Regions from separate parts of the Homo sapiens genome. Here region 1 is linked to region 2. Evidence: promoter capture Hi-C in human tissues and cell types (Jung and others, 2019). All regions are on one chromosome and are shown on one strand. The core of a region is centred on a gene start or on the middle of the fragment in contact, and the rest is flanking DNA. Distances in the headings are between cores, read along the strand shown.

Region 1 (5,845 bases), core at 672-3,171, 280 kb before region 2:
TCCCAATTCATTTGATGAGGCTAGTATTACCCTGATATCAAAACTAAAGACATCACAGGAAAAGGAAACTATCCTTTTCCTTTATGAATCAATATCCTTTATGAATACAGACACAGAAATCTTCAACAAAACACTAGCAAACTGAATCCAGCAACATATAGAAAGGACTGTATACTGTGACCAAGTGGAATTAATCCCAAGTATGCAAGGTCTTTTAACATCTGAAATCAATTAATGTATTATGCCATCTCAATAGATGCAGAAAAAGCGTTCGAGAATGTCTAACACCCTGTCGTGATTTAAAAACAAAAACAAAACCAAACCTCAATAAATAAGATTAGAAAAGAACCTCCTCCATTTGATAAAAGGCATCTATGAAAAACCCACAGATAACACTTAATAGTGAAAGACTGAAAGCTTTGCACTTAAGATCGGGAATAAGACAAGGAAGTCTGCTCTTGCCATTTCCATTCAACATTATACTGGGGGTTCTGTCCAGGGTAATTTGGTAAGTAAAAGCAATAAAAGATATCTAGATAGGAAAGGAAAAATTAAAACCATCTATATTTGCACGTGATGTGATCTGGTATATAGAAAATCCTAAGGCACCCACCCACCCACACAAACACACACACACACACAAAACCATTAGAACTAACACTAACAAGTTCAGCAAGTTTATAGGATATACAAAAATTAATTATATTTCTGTACCCTTGAAATGAACAACCCAAAAATAAAACTTCAAAAATAATTCCACTATATAGCATCAAAGAAAAGAAAATATTTGGGAATTAATTCAACAAAAGAAATGTCAAACTTTTTTTTTTTTTTTTTAATTTGTAGAGATGGGAGTCTCACTATGTTGCTCAGCCTGATTTTGAACTTCTGGGCTCAAGCAATCCTCACATTCAGCCTCCCAAAGTGTTGGGATTGCAGGCATGAGCCATTGTGCCCGGTCAGAAATGTCAAACTTAAACTCTGAAAACTACAAAATATTATTAAAGGAAATTAACAAAGATCTAAATAATTGAAAAGGCACCCCATCCCATTTTCATGGTTCAGATGATTTAATATTATTAATAGGAGGTCATGGGAGGATGACTGCTTGAGCCCAGGAGTTCCTGACCACCCTAGGCAACAAAGTGAGACCATATCTCCACAAATAACAATAATTTAAAAAAAAATTGCTAAGATAACACTATTCCCAAAATTGAAATACAGATTCAATCCAATTTTTCTCAAAATCCCAACTGCCTTCATTGCAAAAAATGACAAATTGCTCCTAAAGTTTGTATGGAAATTCAAGAGACTCAGAATAGCCAAAATAATCTTGAAGAAGAACAAAGTTCTTCTTTTGTGAGAACAAAATAACTTATATTTCTGATTGCAAAACTTACTACAAGGCTACAGTAATCAAGACAATGTTGTATAGGTATAAGGATAGATATAGATTAATGGAATAGAATTAAGATACAGAAATAAAACTTCATCTTCAGCTAAAAGTTGAGAGATGGGAAAAAATATTTTTTTAAAACCCTTTATGCTTACAATCAGCTGATTTTTTACACAGGTGCCAAGACAATTCAATGGGGAAAGAATAATGTTTTCAATACATGGTGTAAGCACAACTGGATATACACATGCAAAAGAATGAAGTTGGATCCCTATCTTAAACTATATAAAAACATTAAATGATTGAAAGGCCTAAATCTCAGAACTAAAATTATAAAACTCTTAGAAGAAAATGCAGAGGCAAATCTTTGTGACCTTGGATTTGACAGTGGTTTCTTAGATATTATACCACCAGAAGCACATTCAGGAAAAAATTGAAAAATCTGACTTTATCAAAATTAGAACAGATAACTCACTGAATAGGAGAAAATATTTAAAAATTATATGTCTGATAAGGGACATGTATCTAGAATATATAAAGAACTTTACTACTCAATAATAAAAAGATAGATGACCCAATTTAAAGGTGGGCCAAGGATCCAAACAGACATTTATTCAAAGAAGATATATGAACAACCAAGAAGCATATGAAAAGATACTCAGTATCATTAGTCATCTGGGAAATTCAAATTAAATCACAATGAGATATCACTTCACCTCCACTAGGATGGCTACAATCAAAAAGACATTATAACCAGTGTTGTGGATATAGAAATTTCAGAACACTCATCTTGCTGGTAGAATTATAAAATGGTACAGCCACTTTGAAAACTGAAAAACAGTTTTGCAGCTTCTTAAAAAGTTAAACATAAAGTTACCATATAACATAGCTATTCCAGCCAGGGGTGTGGTGGCTTATGCCTGTAATCCCAGCACTGTAGAAGCCTGGGCAGGATGATCACTTGAGCCCAAGAGTTTGAGATCAGCCTGAGTAACAGAGACCCCATCTCTGAAAAGAGAAGGGACGGGAGGGGAAGGGAGGGGAAGAGAGGGGAATGGAAGGGGGGGAGGGAGGAGGAAAGAGAGGGGAGGGGAGGGAAGGGAAGGGAGAAAGAAAGAAAGGCAGGCAGACAATTCTACTTCTAGGATATACCCAAGAAAATTGAAAGCTTATGTTTACACAAAAACTTAGACATGAATGTTCATAGCATAATGATTAATAATAGCCAAAAGTATAAGTAATGCAAATGTCCAGCAACTGATAAGTGAATAAACAAAGCATGGTATATCATACAATAGAATATTATTTAAACCTAAAAGGGACTAAATGTGCTACAATGTAAAATTAATCTAGAAAATATTACGCTAAGTAAAAGGCCACATATTGTATTATTCCATTTACATGAAATGCCTTCAAACCATGGAGATAGAAAGTTGATATTTAGTTGCCAGAGGCTGGAGAGACGGGTCAGTGAGAGTCATTGTTTCACGGGTACAGAGTTTCAGTCTGGGAAGATGAAAAAGTTCTGGATATGGATGGTGGTGATGGATGCACAACAATGTGAATGTACCTAATATCACTGAACTGTATATCTAAAAATGATTAAAATGGTCAATTTTATGTTTATATATATTTTACCACAATAAAGAATTATTTTCACAGAAAAAGGAGAGAGAGAGAGAGATGAATTGAATGTGGCAAAATCCTAATAATGGAATCTAGATGATGGGCATATAGTTATTTTTTTAAATACTCTTCTCTCTAATTTTGTTTGAAAATTTTTCATAACTAAAAACATAATATGGAGACAGGCAAAATAGGTGTCTTCTTGATGACAATTCAGCCTGATGGGGCAAATATATGGAAAAACTTGTTGCAAAACAAATAACAAACACAGCTTTGACCATGCCTTTCTCCTGCCTGAAAGCCCTCTGAGAGCATCGTATCACCTACAGGGAAAAAAGACTCTCTGTGACCCTCTCCTCTGCTCACCTTGCCACCTCATCCTGCTTCTCCCTGACTTCCATTTCTTGAGCAACACCAAATCCCTTGTAAATTTCCCAAACATGCCCTGATCTGTGCCATTCTTCATGCCATGTATGCACCCTGCTTAACAATCCAGTCTCCCTCCCTCTGCTTAACCTCTCCTTAAAAACTGGCTTGATCACCAGCTCCTCCAGGGAGTATCTTCTGACCCTCTGCTGAACTGTCCCTCATCTGTGTTTCCATAGCTCACTGTCCATAATTTGTCATAGCATCAAACACACCAGATTCAGACTACCAAATTTGTGCAAATGCACATACACACTCAGATCCCAAGAACCTAGAAACCGGTATATCAAAGGCATAGTGTGAATTCTGTGAAGGAGTTTCTGTACCAGGGAAAGCTCCACTAACTTTTAAACTTGCTAGGTATTTCTCCAGCTTTATGAACATTTAATGTCAGATATCCCTGCAGAGACCACTTAAAAGTTTACTTTTGCTCTAGGCTGAAAACAGTATACCTGAGGAAAAACAGTAACATGACTTACACCTTAGAAAATATCCACTTTTAGTTTTCGCCTAAATAGTGCAGGTAATTTTGAGTCTACAAGGCTTCTGAAAAAGAGCAGGGGATGCCAGGTGCTTGGGAGTGGGGGTTGAAGGGTGGAAATGGGACTTCATGCCTAAGTATACGAATTTCAGTTTGAGAAGATGAAAAAATTCCTACCCATTGCACCCTCCAGTTCCCATCCGAAAAGACAACCACCTTCATCTACAGCTCTTTTCTCTGCTATTTTACCTCAATGTTTAAATATAATACACTGATATTGCTTGATTTCTTAATTTTAAGAGAATGTGTTGACTTCCTGACAAGGTAGATGTGGTTTTGGCTCTTCCTATTTCCACACTCTTCATCCCTCCCTCTCCACGCTTTGCTAACACACGGCATAGTTACAGCACAATTTCTGGTTAAATCAGAAGCCATTTTTTACAATATTACCAGTGCAAATATTGTTATCTGCCTTGACAGATTGTACATTTTATGCAATCCTTTATTTTTCATGGAGTTGGTGATTGCCTCGTTTCAGTCCATTGTTTGTTATTCTATATACTTTGTTAATTTCTTCCACTATTCTGGCATTGGAGTCTTTTGCCTCGCCTTAATAGATTGCAACATTCCATTTCCATTTTTCCTCTGGAGACTTCCCACTCTGTGCTCCTCCCACTTTGGGGGGGCTGCTCTTCAGGCCTGCTGCACAGCTGTCTTTTCTTTAATTGTGGTAAAATATGCATAACAAAATTTATCATCTTAACAATTTTTACATGTACATTCAGTACATACACAGTGTTAAGTGTATTCATACTGTTGTGCAGCCATCACCACCATCCATCTCCAGAACTCTTCTCATCTTGCAAAACTGAAATTCTGTACCCATGAAACAATACCTCCCCATCCCCACCTCACCCTAGTGCCTGGCATCCACCATTCTTCTTTCTGTCTCTGTGAATTTGACGACTCTAGGTACTGCATAGAAGTGGAAACATACAGTATATATATCCTTTCGTGACTGGCTGATTTCACTTGGCATAATATTCTCAAGGTTCATACACGTTGTAGCATGTGTCATATTTCCCTCCCTTTTTGTACACCTGTCTTTTATACCTTCCTGCACTGCTCTCCTTCTTAGATCCACTTAGATCACTTTTATTCCACTTTCTTGCTTTACCTGTCCATTTTGCTAGAGGTCCATAACCTCCGGTATCTTCTTAAATAAAGAGAATATGAGGCTGGGCACAGTGGCTCACGCCTGTAAAACAGAGTGACTCTGTCTTTTCTCAAAGATCTACTGATGGCCACACAAGGCATCTCCTTGCTGTGTTAGGTATATCATCCTATGTCCTATTTCTTGTGGCATCATTGAGCCCACAGCAGGCCTCATTTTGAACTTCCACATGTGGCATTTTTTGAAAAATCTGTAGCTGTGGCAATACTGAGCTTGCATTTCCTCGTAGTTGCCAAGTTATGGCTGCCCCCAGTAAAGGGAAATTTAGAGACAATGCTTGCAAAGCTCCTACCAATAAGCCTGGTGAAGCACTTACTCAACAAATGGAAGTTGTTCTTTTTCATGGGATTACAGTTATTCAAAGGTTCAGAATTTAAAAGTGTTCAGAAGAAAAGGGGAGCCAGACCTGATATTTGTAGATTGGCTTAGATTTGGAGGTTTTTAAAAAATACTATTGAGTTGCCATCCTTGGCAAGGAGCTTGTATGTACAGCGATAGCTATAGATCCAAGCCAATCTACAAATGTGTGTGTAGCACCTGGTTACGAGCATGGAACCTGGAGCTAGATTGCCTGGATTTGAATCCTGGCTTTACCACTCTCAGGCTGACTTTTCTTTTTTGTGTCTGTGTTTTCTCATCTCTAAAATGGGGATAATAATCGTACCAACATACCTTGAGTTTT
Region 2 (6,615 bases), core at 944-3,443:
GCTTCACAGGAGTGTGAAGGGGGAGGAGGGGACCTAGTCTGGCTGTAATTAACTCGTCTGCTTCAAAGGGAGGAATCTAGGTGGCCTAATGCGTTAGGAAGGGGGCTGTCACAAAGTCCCCCCGTGTTCCTGGGACCTTATGGGGTAGGGGTGAGGTCAGGAAGGAAGCAGGTGAGGATAGGAGGGGTGGGGTCTCCTTCCAGCCGGGCCTGATAGGCTGACCCCCTCCCGCGCGCAGCGGGAGGAACTGACGGGTTCGATGAGGAGCGCTCTTGCAGGCAGCGCATTTCAACCGGAAAAGCACGCGTGGAGGTTCCCGGAGCAGCTCCGGTACCAGGCAGCCCGGATTTGGAAACCTAGAGCTGGGGGTGGGGCAGGGCAGGGCCGGGCAGGGCAGCCGCGAGAGATTTACATATACACGCTGGAGACAGCCGGTCCGGATCTGCCACCAAGAAAGCTGTGTAATATTGGGCGAGTCCCTTCCTTGCTCTGGACCTCAGTTTCCCACCTACAGCGTGAGCGGAGGGTGGAGGCTGGGATAAGGGGTGTCAGGAGTCAAAGCTCTTCGAAGTCCTAGACAGCTCTGACTCTGACTTTACTCCTTGGCAGCCAGAAGGACTGACTGGGTCCGTCTTCCTGGGGCAAGGCTGGGCCGGGCGCTCTCGCTCAGAGGGGACGTTCTGGAAGCAGCGGCGAAAGAGGTGGGGTCAGGAGGCCGCCGGTCCCAGGAAAAGGGCGCGGGAGGAGGCAGAAGCGGGAAGCAGCACGCCAGCCCCGACCCAGGGTCCTAGGCCGAAGCTGAAGTAGAGACTCAACACCAGAGCGGCGGGTGCCTCGGTTTCCCCGTGCGCACCGTGGCTCTGGAACCTCGGGAAGAGGCCAAGGGGCACCTTACCTTGTCCTTCTTGCCGGCCCCGCTCTCCTCCGCGGCTGAGGCGGCGCACTTGTTGAGCAGTTTCTTGCCTCCGCAGGCCGTCGGGCTCCAGGTGCGGCCGCCCGCGCAGGCGCCCCCCAGGGGGTCCCCGGCCCCACCGCCCGCGGCGCTCTCCACTTTGATGAGGCGGTGCTTGGGGGAGATGTAGCGCACCTCGGCCGGCGTGGCGGGCCGCCGCTCGCTGCTGCTGCGGTAGAGATGCGGAGAGCCGGAGGACGAGGACGAGGACGCGGCGGCCCCCGCGCCCGAGGAGGCGCAGCAACAGCCCGCGGCGCCCGACGCGGACGAGGCCGAGAAGGCGCGCTGGACCCCGCCTGGCTCCCCGCTGCCGCCGCAGTAGTCCAGGCGGCACATGGCGCGCAGTTTGCGCAGCGACGAGCCAGGCCCGTTGTAGGGGTCCTCGAAGTCTCGCTCCTTCTGCGCGCGGTAGGCGCGGATGAGGTCGCTGGTGCTGCCGCTGTCGTCGGGCAGCGAGCCCGAAGAGGCTGAGAAGCAGGAGGCGGTGGCCGGACCGCAGGACGCCGAGGCGGCGGAGGAGGCCTGCGGCACGGCCTGGGGGGGCTGCGAAGGCCGCTCGCCTCGGCGCCGCTGCTCGCGGTAGTCTGGCCGCGGCGGCTGCGGGGGGCTCTTGGTCTTGCTGTTGCCCAAGCTGAAGTACTTGTTTAGCCACTTGGCCATGGCGAGAGGCCGCCTAGGGCCGCGGCGCGGGAGCCCGGTCCGCCGCCGCGGCCATTCGGGGGGCAGCGCTGCGGCGCAGGTCCCTCGGCGCCCCGGCCCCGGCGGGGGGCGTCCGGGGCGCCCGCTCCCGACGCCAAGTTCAAGTTCTTGCCGCCGCCGCCTCCTGCCGGCAGCTCTCTGGCTCCGGCGGCTGCAACACCTCCCTCCGCCTAGCGCCGCCCAAGCTAGGAATCTCGCGCCCCTCGTGGGCGCGTCTCATGGGGTCCCGGCCCACGCCCGGGGGAGAGCGGAAGGTCCGAGCGCTCCACGCCGCGGACCCTTTGGCCGTACGCCCCTCGCCGTGGATCGCGCTCCTGCCCCGTCGGAGCCGCAGCCTCCGCCTTGGCCGGGATCCGCGGCTGCCGCGGGAACTTCTCGGCGTCCTCGGCTCCCTTCTTCCTTCCTGCGAGCGCTGGGGAGAGCTCGGCCCCGCAGCGGAGGAGAATGCGGCCGGGAGAGACAGCGAGCGACGGAGGAAGGCAGCCGGCGCCCGCCGGAGCCCGCGCGCCCGTGCCCGTCCCGGCGGCGCCTGTCGCTGCCACTGCCGCCGCCTCCCGAGCCGCCGCGTGTGTGACACTCAGGCCGCCAGAGCCCGCCCCGCGCCGCCGCCCCGCCCCCCCGGAGCCCGCTCGCGCGCCCCGCCCCCCGCCCGCTCCCGCAGACCCAGCACCGCCCATCCCCGCGAGCCTGGCCCCGGGCCGCGGCCCAAGCCCCGCCCCCCTCGCGCCCGGGGCCGGGGTGGGCGCACCTCTCCGCTCCTGCACACGCCACCTCCCGCGGCTGCCCTGGCGCCAGCACCAGGGTCTTGCCCCAGGGCGCTGGGGTCCCGCCGCGCAGCCGGCTCCACCTAGCTTGCAGCTCGCCGCCGCCTCGGGCGAGAGGTTGCCTGGCGGAGCCTGCTACGCGCAGAGGCCAAACCTTTCCGCAGTCCCCCGGGACCCCGCGCGTTGTTCACTCCAGGGATCCCCCTGTCGGGGTTGAGGAGGGAGAGTGGATTAACACGGAACCTGTCTAGTTTACAGCGTGGCCCGTGTGGAGGAAATGCAGTGCCTAGTGCCCTTAGGGACAGAGTGGCTGTCCCTCTTCCTTAAAGGGACAGACTCCGGTTCAGCCCCGTGCGCCAGGTCTTCGGAGGAATCTTTATGCTAATGAGTGTATTAGCAGTCCAGATGACGGATGTGGTCGGGATAGGCGGTGGGAGCCGGGCCCAGCACCAATCCGAGAGCAAGGCTAGGGGAGGTCGGAATGTTTGCTTACCTTTTCACCTCTGAGGAAGTCGAGGCTTTAGCCCTGTTCGCTGCCAGCCGGCGGGGAGCAAGTTGTGGGAACATTTAATGCCTTATGTTGTAGGAGCTGGCAAGGATCCATTTAATACAGGACCTCGGCCGGGTGCGGTGTCTCACGCCTGTAATCCCAGCACTTTGGGAGGCCGAGGCGGGTGGATCACGAGGTCAGGAGTTTAATACCAGCCTGGCCAAGATGGTGAAACCCCGTCTCTACTAAAAATACAAAAATTAGCCGGGTGTGGTGGCGGGTACCTGTAATCCCAGCAGCTACTCGGAAGGCTGAGGCAGAGAATTGCTTGAACCTGGGAGGCAGAGGTTGCAGTGAGCCGAGATCACACCACTTCACTCCAGCCTGGGCGACAGAGGGAGATTCCGTCTCAAAAAATAAATACAGGACCTCATTTTACAGATGGAGAAACTGAGGCCCAGAGGAAAGTCACACAGGTGGACTTGGATGCCAGTTCCTAAGTCGGGTGGCACCATAATTATGTCTTTTCCAAGAGTCTCTTCTTTGCGATTTCAGATCATCCTTTGATTATTAACCAAAATTGAGGAAACAGTCCCAGGGAGTGGCCTGATTTGGTCAGTGTAACTTTTCCTGGGATCTGCACCCAGGGGAGGTGGCATGCTCCCTGTTGAGAGGGAAATGCTGCCTAAAGATGAAGTAGCTGCCACTAGGGCCTGGTGCTGCTTTGAATTTGCCTGGGCAACCCTCAAAATGTGACTTAACTCTAAGATGTGGGCACCTGAGAGCTGAGAAATTCTCTAAGAATGTTGATTTACTAAAACAATAGCCCAAATCAATAATCTGCATTTGCTGTCTGTCTGTTATAGATGTGCTTTGGGGGAGTCTGTTTTTCCCATATCCTGTAGTAACAGTGGGAACTGTGAGGGCAGACAGCAAGGCCAGGGGCTCTTTTGATCACATCATAGTTCTGGCCACGCTGGAAGTAGAGGTCAAACTCAGATTTCAATCTGAGACATTTGGACAGGGAAGGCCTGAGAGCTGTTACTGCTTCCTCTCTGTAACCCACCCAGACTCATGCCTGAGGCCACAGCACAGAAGTGATAGAAGCAGGACTTGAACTCGGTCTTATCCTGAAGCTGACCTCTGTCTGCTCAGCCATACACAGTGGTAAAGTGAAATTGACTTCAAATTTGTTATTCCAGAATCAAGCTATTTGCCCTTTCCCTCCTTGGTCAGACAAAACTGTCATCCTCTGTGGCCAGTTGAATTTTCCAAACCCACTATGTGACGTCTCACAGTCGCAGATACTATCACCAGCTACAGAGCATCTTCATTGCCTGAGATCTATTTACTTAGCATTTCACAGGAAATAATCTAAGGGATGTGTGTGTGTGTGTGTGTGTGTGTGTGTGTGAGAGAGAGAGAGAGAGAGAGAGAGAGAGAGAGAGAGATGTGATGTGTCTGGGGCATGCAGAGAGGACCCAGAAGTTGACCTGGCTAGGATGTTTATTTTGAATATACCTAGACTTAAGTATCTCCGTTACCCTTTAAATTGTTCCTCTGTCGCATTGGCACTTAATTATCTTGCACGTAAGGAGGCCCCAGTAGAAAACCTGAAAGGCAAGGACATCCTTGTTTTAAGCCCCACCTTTCATCCAACCACAAATCCTCCCCAGCTCCCTTCCTTCCCATTTCTACTTCTGGGCTCAGATCCTGGCAATAGGCCAGGCCACCTGAGACAAGAAAGTCCTCACCAGAATCTGGAAGCTTGCTCCCTGCATGTGTCTTGCACATGGAAAGGTTATCTCTGCCTTTTCCAAAAGTTCAGGAAGAGAAGTTATATTTCATAACTTATTTTTTCCATGTCACTTTCATCAGGCCGTAGAGTCGGATCCACTTTTCCATGTGATACCTCTGCTGGGGTATAATTTGCAAGCCAGAATTATTGTAATGCTATAGTATTATGCCAAGAACTTCCAGAGCACTTGTGTATCTGCTCAACCCTTAGACACTCTGTATATAATTAACCCTCCTCAACATCCCTGCAATCTGGTGTTATTCCCAGTTTACAGATGGGGTAGTTGGCCTAAGGTGGTATTTACCTCAAGCAGGCAAAAACCACATGGGTGTTTTCCTTTGGGAGCTTGTAGAGACGACCATCCAAGACTCAGAGTCCGAAATAATCATTCTGAAGGGAAATAGAAAAAGCTTCCTAAGGACTTTGCCAAACGGTTTAGGAAGACAAACACTTGTAGAAGTATTAGAGCATTATAGGAAGTAAGAGCTGGACAGACTCTCTTTTCAGAGATCCAGCCACTCCATTTTACAGAGGGCAAACTGGGACCAGTGAAGGGAAGAGATTAAATCAAGAGGCACAGCTAGGATTGGTCCCCAGTCTCTTGACATCACAAACTCATTATTATGTGATGCTGTAAACTGTGCCCATCATTTTTGGAATTTTTGCTTTTCATGTCCTCCTCCAGTCCCACCCTAGTTTTCTTATTAGAAGGGTTGAGTATGGCCCTGTTTCTGTTTCTGTTCTATCTCAGCTTCTCACCTTAGACCAAGAGCTCCTCAAGCTGCTAGGGGCATGGTGTCTCCTTTGCTGCACCTCCTTCCAGTATCTGGAGGAAGGCTGTGCCACTTGTACAGGTCCAGAAAAATAGTGCCACCACCAACCCAACAGACTCATCTTCTTCTTCTTCTTCTTCTTCTTTTTTTTTTTTGAGACAGAGACTGGCTCTATCACCCAGGCTGGAGTGCAGTGGCACGATCTCCGCTTACTGCAAGCTCAGCCTCCCAGGTTCATGCCATTCTCCTGCCTCAGCCTCCTGAGTGGCTGGGACTACAGGCCCCTGCCACGACGCCCGGCTAATTTTTTTTGTATTTTTTTAGCAGAGACCATGTTAGCCAGGATGGTCTCGATCTCCTGACCTCGTGACGCACCTGCCTCAGCCTCCCAAAGTGCTGGGATTACAGGTGTGAGCCACTGCGCCTGGCCTTTTTTTTTTTGAGACAGAGTTTCACTCTTGTTGCCCAGGCTAGAGTGCAATGGGGTGATGTTGGCTCAACACAACCTCCGCCTCCTGGATTCAAGTGATTCCCCTGCCTCAGCCCCCGAGTAGCTGGGATTACAGGCATGCGCCACCATGCTGGGCTAATTTTGTATTTTTAGTAGAGATGGGGTTTCTCCATGTTGGTCAGGCTGGTCATGAACTCCCGGCCTCAGGTGATCCGCCCACCTTGGCCTCCCAAAGTGCTGGGATTACATGCGTGAGCCACCGCACCCGGCCTCATCTACTTCTTTTAGATAACATTATTCAGTTCTGTCCATTGAATGTTAACGTCAGTCCCCTGTCTGTGTACCAGGCCCTGTAGGATGCAGAGATGATCTGGACCACAGTCTCTCACCAATAATTATACAAGGCAAGATGAGAGAAGTGCAGGACAGAACAAGGGACAAAGAGCTATGGGGCTATAGGGAAGGGAGATTTTAATTATGGGGCGGGGCAGATCATAGTGGGTTCTTAGTAGAGGTGATATCTGGTCTGGGCTTTGAAGAGTGAGTAGCATTATGATATAGTAGAAGTAGACGAGAGAATTCCATGCGGAGAGAGAGAGAGCAACATCGTGAAAGGCATAGAAGCAGGAACATGTGGTAAACCACTTGGGCCATAGTGAGTTGTCAAGTGGAGTGGAGTAGCTGAGAA

What was found. The method cuts DNA at HindIII sites, captures the fragments that hold promoters and counts their contacts. A contact is called where the count stands out against the background at its distance.
Region 1: a contact is called between a fragment that was not itself captured here and the fragment with the promoter of SHB in region 2, in 2 of the 25 tissues and cell types used here (heart left ventricle and thymus).

What each region holds. Positions count from the first base shown.
Region 1 is chr9:37,791,885-37,797,729 of GRCh38, forward strand. The region is part of intron 2 of LOC105376037 (a long non-coding RNA gene); the gene reads right to left. Among named protein-coding and RNA genes, the nearest start is that of DCAF10, 6.0 kb to the right of the region's middle. The HindIII fragment of the contact is 4,652 bases long and covers 1-4,247 here.
Region 2 is chr9:38,067,034-38,073,648 of GRCh38, forward strand. It overlaps SHB (SH2 domain containing adaptor protein B), which reads right to left and starts at 2,194. Exons shown (of 6, transcript NM_003028.3): 1 at 896-2,194. The coding sequence starts at 1,612. LOC105376039 (a long non-coding RNA gene) reads right to left here. Exons shown (of 4, transcript XR_007061483.1): 3 at 5,008-5,093; 4 at 4,394-4,518. RefSeq lists an enhancer at 631-1,434 and silencers at 1,325-1,374, 1,795-2,604. The HindIII fragment of the contact is 6,868 bases long and covers 1-4,892 here.